Regions from separate parts of the Homo sapiens genome. Here region 2 is linked to region 1. The links are contacts of gene promoters, found by promoter capture Hi-C in blood cells and fetal thymus (Javierre and others, 2016). All regions are on one chromosome and are shown on one strand. The core of a region is centred on a gene start or on the middle of the fragment in contact, and the rest is flanking DNA. Distances in the headings are between cores, read along the strand shown.

Region 1 (4,708 bases), core at 1,921-4,420:
TGGTAAGGAGCTGAAGGAAGTTTGGAATGTGGCCAAGCGAAATGTGGAGGCTGGAGCTGGGGCCTTGACAAGGGAACATGCTCAAGGATGACTGAGGGGCGCTGGGGTCAACTGAGATTGATCGAGTCTGTCTTCTCTCTGCGGGTCTTGTCTCCTTCGCTAAGCTTGAGGCAGAGTCCATGGCACTTTCCTTTCCTGTCTGTCCGTTAGCTAGGCAATGCTAGCCCCAGTACTCTCAGAAAGGTCTGGAAAAGCAATCACTGGCAGAACCCAGAAGCACTATAGGGCTGTTAGGGGAACAGAGGTAAGATCTTAATTGCTCTGATAGGAAGGTCTCCATCTTGGTTGATCCATACCTTTTCTGCTGCCCTGCTGACCAGTTTACTCCTGTTTTGTTTTAAGTGAAAAGGAGAACAGCCAACTTTTGCCTAGCAACACTTGCAGGCCTTAAATCTTACAGGCCGGGGAAAAGCCAACAAGAAGAGCCAGCGGCTTCATGTCCCACAAGCTAAATGAGGCTGAGGCAATTCCTAGGAGGTAGCAAGACAGAGCCATTGCGTAGGGAGGACAAAGACCCATGGAAACAGGTCTGAAGGCTCCCTGGGCTCCAGGAGAGCATGCTGGGAGCTGGGTGTAAGTGGAACCCTGAGGCCTGCTGCTCAGGGGAGTGAAGGGACTGGACAGCTCCTAACGTGAAGGTGGTGACTGAAGGAACACAAGTTCAAGGTGGGAGGTGGCATGATGGGTGGCATGGTTGAGTCTGGTCAGGCATGAGCCCCGAGCTCAGGAGGAATATCTGCCTCTTAGCCCTCTCCCTCCTTCCTTCTGCTGATTCTCGGAGGCCACTTACAGGTGGAAAAGATCCTTGAGTGTGACAACAGGTGTTGTGCTTCTTCCTCCTTTGCACACCATCTCCTTCCAGCCCAGTCTTTTCAGCCTGGCTCCCTCTCTGAGCCACACTCCTCCTTTCAGCCAGTGATGCAGTCAGTACAAGGAAACGCTTAGCTCATGAAGGTAAATTTAGCAAGAACTCTCAGAGACTGATAGATGCTCTGGCTCCCCAGCAACCCTCTCTTTCCCCACAAGATTTCCCTCTTCAGGACCTGGGATCTATCTTGCACTTAGAAAATTCAGGGACAGAGAGCTCTCTCAAGTCCAAGGCAGCACATTTCACTGAACTCATTTCACCTCATATAATAAACCTCTGTTTATTGAGGGCCGGGACCGTGCCAGGCCCTTGGGTTAGGTGGTGACTGAGCTGTTAGAAAGTTTTCCTTTGATTGAGCCAAAATGTGTCTCCATGTAGCTTCCAGCCATGGGCCTCAGCCCTGCCCTTTGAAGTCACCCAGAACAAGTGTAATCTCATTGCAGTCTAATCCTCAGATATTTGAAAATATCTGTCATTTCCCCCAGCTTTCGTTCCTCCATGGATAAACATTTCTTTGTTGGTTTATTTTTATTTTTTGTGCCTTTCCTTTTTATTACTCAAATAATATCAGTTCATTGTGGAACTTTTTAGAAAATTCAGAAAAACATAAAGTAAAAATCCACCCCACTGTTACTCCCAGAAATGACAACCCTAACACTCTTTCTTCTCACCAGTCTTATTTTTTCTCTGCACGCTGTCCATTCTACATCTTTTTTCTTACCAAAATGGGATCATCCTTTAAGTAATATTTTAGAGACTTATTTTGTTTTCACTCTTTCAATATGTTAACTTTTCCCTCATTCTTCTACCATGCCAATTTTAATATGAAATTGTGTAACTGCCCAATGATTTATCTAACCAGCTTTTAAAAGTTGTTTTCAATTTTCCTTTGCTGAAAAGAACATAGTGGGACTAGAATTGGAAGTGGGGTGAAGATGGGGGGTAGGTGAACAGAGAAATGAGGAGCCCTTAAATTAGTCATGCTATCTTACCATCTGATTTTTTTTTCCATTTTCTGTGTTGAAAAATTATACTTCCCAGAACATGATTGTGAGCACCTGCTTGGCATTCAGTTGCAAGGATTTGCCCTAATTAATGTAACTGGTTTCCTATTATTGGACATTGAAGTTGTTTCTAATTTTTGACCATTACAAACCAGACTGTGATGAACATCCAAGAAGCTAAATCTGTGCTGGGGCTGGACACTGAGGTCAGGAGGAATATTTTCGAGACCTCTGAAGCATAAGGTCCCTGCCAGTAGTTGTAACTAGAAGCTTTCTGGCAAAGGCCCAGAAGGCTGGCTAAGGCCGAGGACTGTGCTCAGGCCTCTGGGCTTGCCCGGGTTCAGTACCCATTTATGTAGCCCCTGTCAGAGAGTGTTCAGGCTGGCATGGTCCTATGAGACCACTGGGCCAGCACCCTCATCTCTTACATGAGGGAACTGAGGCCTGGGGCTGGGGCTGGTCCTTCGGCAGCTCTGTAGTCGGGCAGAACTTTGCCTCTCCCCAGCACCCTGGCTTCTGAACTGGAAGCTAAGCTCTGAGGTTTGGAATCTCACCCAGAGGCCCTGTGAAATCCTGCCTGCTCTCCTTCACTGGACCACTTACTGCTGAGGCTGGAGGGGGCACTTTGACAAATGAACTGATCAGTAAGGGGCTGAGGGGCATTGAAAGAAGACTTAAGGTTTACCCAACAAGCATCTGGGCCTGCTCTGCCCAGAATGCCCCTTTTTTCCCTAACCCAGATGATATGCTTAATGGCAGTCACCCTACATTCAGGTCCACCTGGCAAATCTATCTGAGGTTGAGCTGAAATAACAAGTGAGTCCCTCACTCTCCTTAAAGGGGTCAGCTGTCTCTTCTTGCCAGGAACTGGCTTAGTTAAAGGCCTGTCTATTCAGCCCTCTGTCCCTGACATCTCTGTGGTTTCAGAGTGCTAATGAGCTCCTCTCCTTCCCCTCTCAGGCCTTGCTACTCCCTGGGGAATTCACACAAATGGTGTGCGATTTGCCCCTTCTGTGTTTTTCTTTCTGACTTGGAGGCAAAGCAAATCCCTCACCTCCCACTGACACCATGTTTATTCAACTGGGAGAGATTTCACACCCAGGTAACCCAGCTTTCCCTCCCTGAGCCCCTTCCCTAAATCTTTATCCCCCTCCCAAGTCATCCCACCCCTGTCCTCCCTGAATAATTTATAAGACCAGGCAGGGCTTATAAAAGGGTCTCCCAGGAAAAGCCAAAAGAGTGCAGAAGGTTCTGGGAAGTAGGAGACCCCACTGGCTTTGGTCCCCTAAGAATGGACTCTGCTGCCTGTGCTGCTGCTGCCACCCCTGTTCCAGCCCTGGCTTTGGCCCTAGCTCCAGACCTAGCACAAGCCCCACTGGCACTCCCTGGCCTGTTAAGCCCATCTTGCCTTCTCTCCTCTGGACAAGAAGTAAATGGGAGTGAAAGGTAAGTTGAGCTTAGCCTTTGGCAACCTGAACTTAGGCTTGAGAGCTTCCTGAGAGAGGAAGGAAAATGAGATGTCCAGGGCACCCTGTTCTCTGTGAAGGGGAAAAGCAATGGCCTCATAGCCCTCCCTCCTCAACTCTAGCTGGAATATCTCATCTGACTTTTCACCTCACTAATCCCGCTGGGTGGCAAGAGGGGACTTGGGGACAGCTGTTGCCAAAGCTGAAGGTGAAGCAGCCAGGTCCTCATAGGCCAGGTGGCTGAGTCCCCTGAGGGGGATGGGGAACTGCCATGAAACCTGGGCTTAACACAATCTAGACTGTGGGGGTGGGGAGTTTGGGGAAAGAGGACCAAAGTCTAAAGAGGCCCTTGACTGGGACATTGTCTTTTTCCTGACCACGCCATAAGATTTCCATTTGCTTTTTTCCTACCTCTGCAAGTCCAGTGGGGAAGCAGTGGACCCAGGAACATTTCTGGCCCTCTTCTTCAGCCCAGGAAGATGGTAGAGCTCTGAGTTCTACATCTTGGAGCAGGAAGTAGGAGGCAAGATATTTTCCATCTAGCCCCCACTCATTACTCCAAACATTTAGTCTTCAACAAACATTTACTGAAACAGCTACTGTGTACCAGACATTGTACTAGGTGTTGAGGATTCAGATACGATTGAGCATATCTTTGAGCTTAAGAAGCCCAAAGACAAGTAAATAGACAATTACAAAACAGCATGATAAAAGCAATAATAACATTGCTGAAGCCGAGAGGAGGGACATCTGTCCTGGAATGGGCTCAGGAGCCTTAGGAAAGGCTTCCTGGAGCAGATGGCACCTGAGCCAAGCTTTTGGGAGGTCTCTTGTTATCTCAGGGAGCCCACCTTTCAGTCTCTTCCTCTACGGATTGATCTCTCCTCTTTGTCCCAGAGGAACTTGTCTCTGGAGGCCCTGGCTGTCTTCCACAAATGACTCCCCAAGGCAGATGAGGAAGCTGGTGGATTTGGTGAGTTCGAGCCCTTGTGACGTGTGTTCACATGCAGCCACATGCATTAACAGTGACCAGGTCACTTCCCAGAGAGCCCCTGACCTCAGTCCAAAGGTGCAGATCTGAGATAGCATCCTCACAGTTTTGCCAACATTTGATTCCAACAGAGAGCAGATCCAAGCTTTCTGTGGCAATTGGAAAGATGAGGAGACCAAAGCTCAGAGTGGGCAAGGGATCTGGGCAGGCCCCACAGCCAGTGTGTGGCAGTGCTGGTGCTTGAGGCCTCGTCTCCTGGCACCTTACTCCAGTGCTCTCCCACCCACCCGATCTCCCTGAATCTTTGCTGCTCCAGTAG
Region 2 (4,121 bases), core at 770-3,269, 420 kb before region 1:
GTGCGCGTCTGCACCCAAATTCTGGAGAAGTCTGAGGCAGCAGGGCGCTGGCATGTCAGCGCTGGCCCCAGTACATGCACCCCTGGCCAGGCTGCGAGAACACCAAGGCTTGGCCCCCACATTGCTCGGAGATTGGAGTGGGTGCCAACAGCGGGGAAAAGCCAGGCAGCAGGAGCAGGCACTTCCAAGCCTGCAAGGGTGGAGGGGCAGCCTTCCCAGGCCCTCAAGAGGGCAGAGAGGTCTGGGTCCACAGCCCTGACTTGGGCGCCTGCTGCTGCACCCAGAGGGGTTGGGTGGGGCTGCTGCCTGCTCCTAGCTCCTGCCGGGTCCTTGGAGTGTGCAACACCGGCTGTGCCCCCTCGCAGCCTGAGGCAGGGGCTTCAGGTCCTCGCTGGGCCCGGGGTGTCATCCAGGGCAGGGGCGACGTTGCCGCGAGCTTTCCCCACAGCCCTGTTGCTCAGGTGTGCCCCAGGGGTCCCCCTCACCTGGCTCGTGGCTTTATCTGGGCGTGGCGGGGGGCGGGGCGCCTCCGGGAGCAGATCGCGGCCACAGGCCCTGGGCCTCGGCCCTGGCTGTCGGGACTGTCAGGCTCGACAGTCACTCGGATGCTGGGCGGACCCTGGGGAGGCAGTCCCAGGTGGCCTCGCCCAGAGCCTCCTCCCAGGGCACAGGAACCTGGCACCCTCGGCAAGGTGGGCACAGTGGCTGCACCACTGGCTGGGTCCCCAAAGCGGGCACTGCTCCTACTTCCAGCCCCGGGCCCCGAAGTACGGTCCCAGCTCTGCACCCCTCCTGCCTCTCGTGCTCCATGTGCAAGCGCAGCACCACCCTGGGCCCAGCTCCGCCTCGGGGCCCCTCTCTGCTAGACCACATAGCTCCGTCGCTGACGGGTGACCTGGCCCAGCTCCACTGAGGCAGCCCCCAGGGCGGCAGGCTGCGGGGGAGGTAGGGAGGGTGGGCGGGGGCGGGTTGCCTGCGTCTTCCCCACACCCTCTCCACAGCCGTGGCGTAATGGCAGCAGCCGCTCTGGACAGCACACCGCTGTCATCAACATCTTTCCAGGTGGGGCTGATGTTGGTCTGGGACCACACTTGGAGAACCAGTGCTTTAGGGGTTGTGCAGAGTAGGCGTGAAGGTCAGGGGTCTCTGGTCCTGCGAGGCCTTGTGCAGAGGCAGGGACTGTGCCACATGACCTGGAGGAGGTTCTAGTTCTGATAGGCAGGGCTCTGGGCGGAGCTCCACAACCTGCTCCTGAGGTTCCTACAGTTGTCAAAGAGCACGGGCCACCTCCAGGCCTCCTGGCAAAAGTTCAACCTCTTCTAGAGTTCTCTAGCTGCTACTGTCATGCCTCCCTCTTCTCGGGTGGGGAGAGGGTGGTGGAGGGAACCCTGGGGCACATGGCCCAAGAGGAGCCCTGAGCCCTAGAGCAGTGATGGTTCTCAAACTTGAGCAAGCATCACAATCACCCTGGGTAACACGCAGATTACCGGGCCCATTCCCAGAGTTTCTGATCACAGGTCTGGGCTGATGGTGGCTGAGAATGTATATTTTCAGCAAGTTCTCAGGTGATGCTGGCTGATGCTTCTTGGCAAAGGGAATAAAAAGGTGTCTATGTTCTCATGTTTTTATGACTAGGTCCTAGAGGCCTTGGACACTGACAGTCGCAGTCCAGGGAGCAGTCTGAACAGAGACTGGGAATTCATCTGGTGCCAGCTTAAGAATTCAGAATGACTTGATTTTTCTTGAGTGAAGGTTTGGCAAAAAAGCTACCAAATTACATACAACATTTATTCTTCAAAAATATTTTTGAAACTAATCATTGGTTGATGTTTAGGTTCAGCCATTTCAACAAAGGGAGGAGGGAAGAGAACTCACATTTATCAAGCTCTACTAAGCTTTTTGCTAGGCGATTCCCCTACATTATCTCATTTCCTTCTTGAAACGACCATCAGAAGAGGAGGAAATAGGCTCAGAGAGCTTAAGTGACCTGCCTAATGTCACACAGCTTATGAGAGCCAGACTTGGATTCCAACTAAGGTCTGGCTCCAAACACTTCTCACTATACTGGAGAAGGGCTAAGAGGGTACTTCTGACCCCACCTGCCAATCAGGAGGCCAATCTCTTGGGAGGGTACAAAGCTTTTGTTTAAACACTAAATCCCACAAGTAGTAAACACGCCGATACACCACGCCTGACAGCAAGGAAGACAGACAGGCCATCTAAGCACATCTTTTAGAAGGCAGTAAATGGGCATTTCCAGAGGTGCAGAGTTTTGAGTCGAACAAGAGTGAGGGCTGAGCAAGGCTTTCAACATGTGCTGTGCTTGGGGAGGAAGAAATGGCAGTGGGTCACTCCACAAGGGAGACTATGAATGCTCAATCCAGACATAAGGGTTCTGGTTAAAATGACTCCAGAATAGACATCTATTGTCCTTGCTTCTATGTCCTACTTAATACATTTCCCCCACCTGGAAAGATCAATCTCTGTCATTTAAAAATATTTTATCATGAAATAATAAGATATACAAGCAAAGTATACAGACTCGTATGATGAGCACCTATTTACCACTGTGTTTAAGAAATAAAACCCTACTAATGTGATTGTCATCTTCTGTTTACTTCATTCCCATCCACTTGCCCATTCCCAGTAAATAGCACCCTGACTTCAGAGTTTGTCATCTCTACACATGTGAAAGCCCTTCTTTCATCTATGTAAATCCATATTCATCATATTCATCAGTAATTTTAAATGTAGTGCAAAAACTCACCTCCTTCGCAAATTGTCCTTGATTAACCCCACCACACTTAATTTCTTCACTGTCTCTTTCCTAGCTTACATCTTTCATTTTTTTAAACTCTATTCACTTTTACTTGTGGATTCATTCTTTGGAAGTAGTTCACTTCCTCCATGAGCTTTTTTGATCACTCCAGGCAGCACTAATATCTGTTCCAAAGGCGAAATATAGGTGGCTTTTAAGTTAAAATGGTTCTGGATTCAAATATGGACTCTGTCACTTACTAGCTCTGTGACCTTGAGCAATTGACTCCTTTCTCTTGGTGTCTAGTGGCTCATTTATAAGATGAGGTTATCGTAAAGATCAAGTGAGTAGTATATTGTGGTGATTCATTTACATGCATGTGAATGTTATCTTCAAGATATTTAAATCCATGACCATCACCAATTTTTAAATTATGAGCATTGATTTGGGTGCTTGAGCTTTTTTGGTTCATTTTTTGGTTACATACTGTCTCCTAATATGCTATAATGGCTCTATGTGCATAAATAAGACTTGTCTTCCCCCAGAAAAGCTGTGTTCTCATGGAAAGCAGAGCGTGAGCCATGCAGAATGACAATATAACTTACCATTCAAACCAAGACACTTTTGAGAGTGAGAAGAGGTGCTATTAATAATAATTGCCCCAGGTCTCATCACAAACCAGGACTGTCCCTGGGAAGCCAGGACACATGGCTATCCTAATCATATATTTCTTGAGAGTCTCTCCAACCCTCAGCCCAGTGCTAGCTAGGAAGTAAGTACTTGCTAAATCAATACTTGTGGAGTGGAATTGAAGGCCTGGCAGCCTCAGAAGTTAGCAAACATGGCTAGTCTTATGTAGCTCCTCCTTTCCTCCCTCTGTCTCTTGTGTGCTCTTCTTATTCAGCAGTAATGTCACCCCCAAATGGCACATTCATCATCCCAAATTAACCATTATTAAAGCCATCCATTTGCGGGGCTGCAGCTAAAATGAATTGTGTTATTATTCCAGTTACAGCAATGAATGGCTGAACATCAAAAGCCATTTTGATTTTGTAGCTAGAAGGCAATCAATTATTGTGTTCTGTCGGCTTGTCCAAAGTAGTGCCCAGCCTGCTGCTTGTGAGTATAAGCGTCCTTCTCCATCTTGTCATACACTCACACACCTCCTTAGACCTCCCCTCACAATACTGGAGAGCCCAGGAAAGGGAAGCATATATTCTTTCTACCAGTCTGGATCAACTCTTCCTCCCAAAAGTTGGGGTCTTCTCGGCTTTGAGGCTAAAGAGGCTTCTCCTGACTTACACTGCCTTTCTCTCTCCCACTCCTGATCCCTATAGGCCTGGGCAGTGAGCCAGCCTGAGTT

The links. Contacts are between HindIII fragments. The CHiCAGO score rates a contact against its expected background, and 5 or more counts as called.
Region 2: a fragment that was not itself captured here is called in contact with the fragment with the promoter of RIPPLY1 in region 1 in 1 of 17 cell types (erythroblasts); the score reaches 5.0 in erythroblasts.

What each region holds. Positions count from the first base shown.
Region 1 is chrX:106,901,803-106,906,510 of GRCh38, reverse strand. RIPPLY1 (ripply transcriptional repressor 1) reads left to right here and starts at 3,170. Exons shown (of 4, transcript NM_138382.3): 1 at 3,170-3,378; 2 at 4,296-4,371. The coding sequence starts at 3,224. It also overlaps a transcript of CLDN2 not described here. The HindIII fragment of the contact is 2,011 bases long and covers 2,205-4,215 here.
Region 2 is chrX:107,320,627-107,324,747 of GRCh38, reverse strand. No RefSeq gene overlaps it. Among named protein-coding and RNA genes, the nearest start is that of DNAAF6, 120 kb to the right of the region's middle. The HindIII fragment of the contact is 243 bases long and covers 1,898-2,140 here.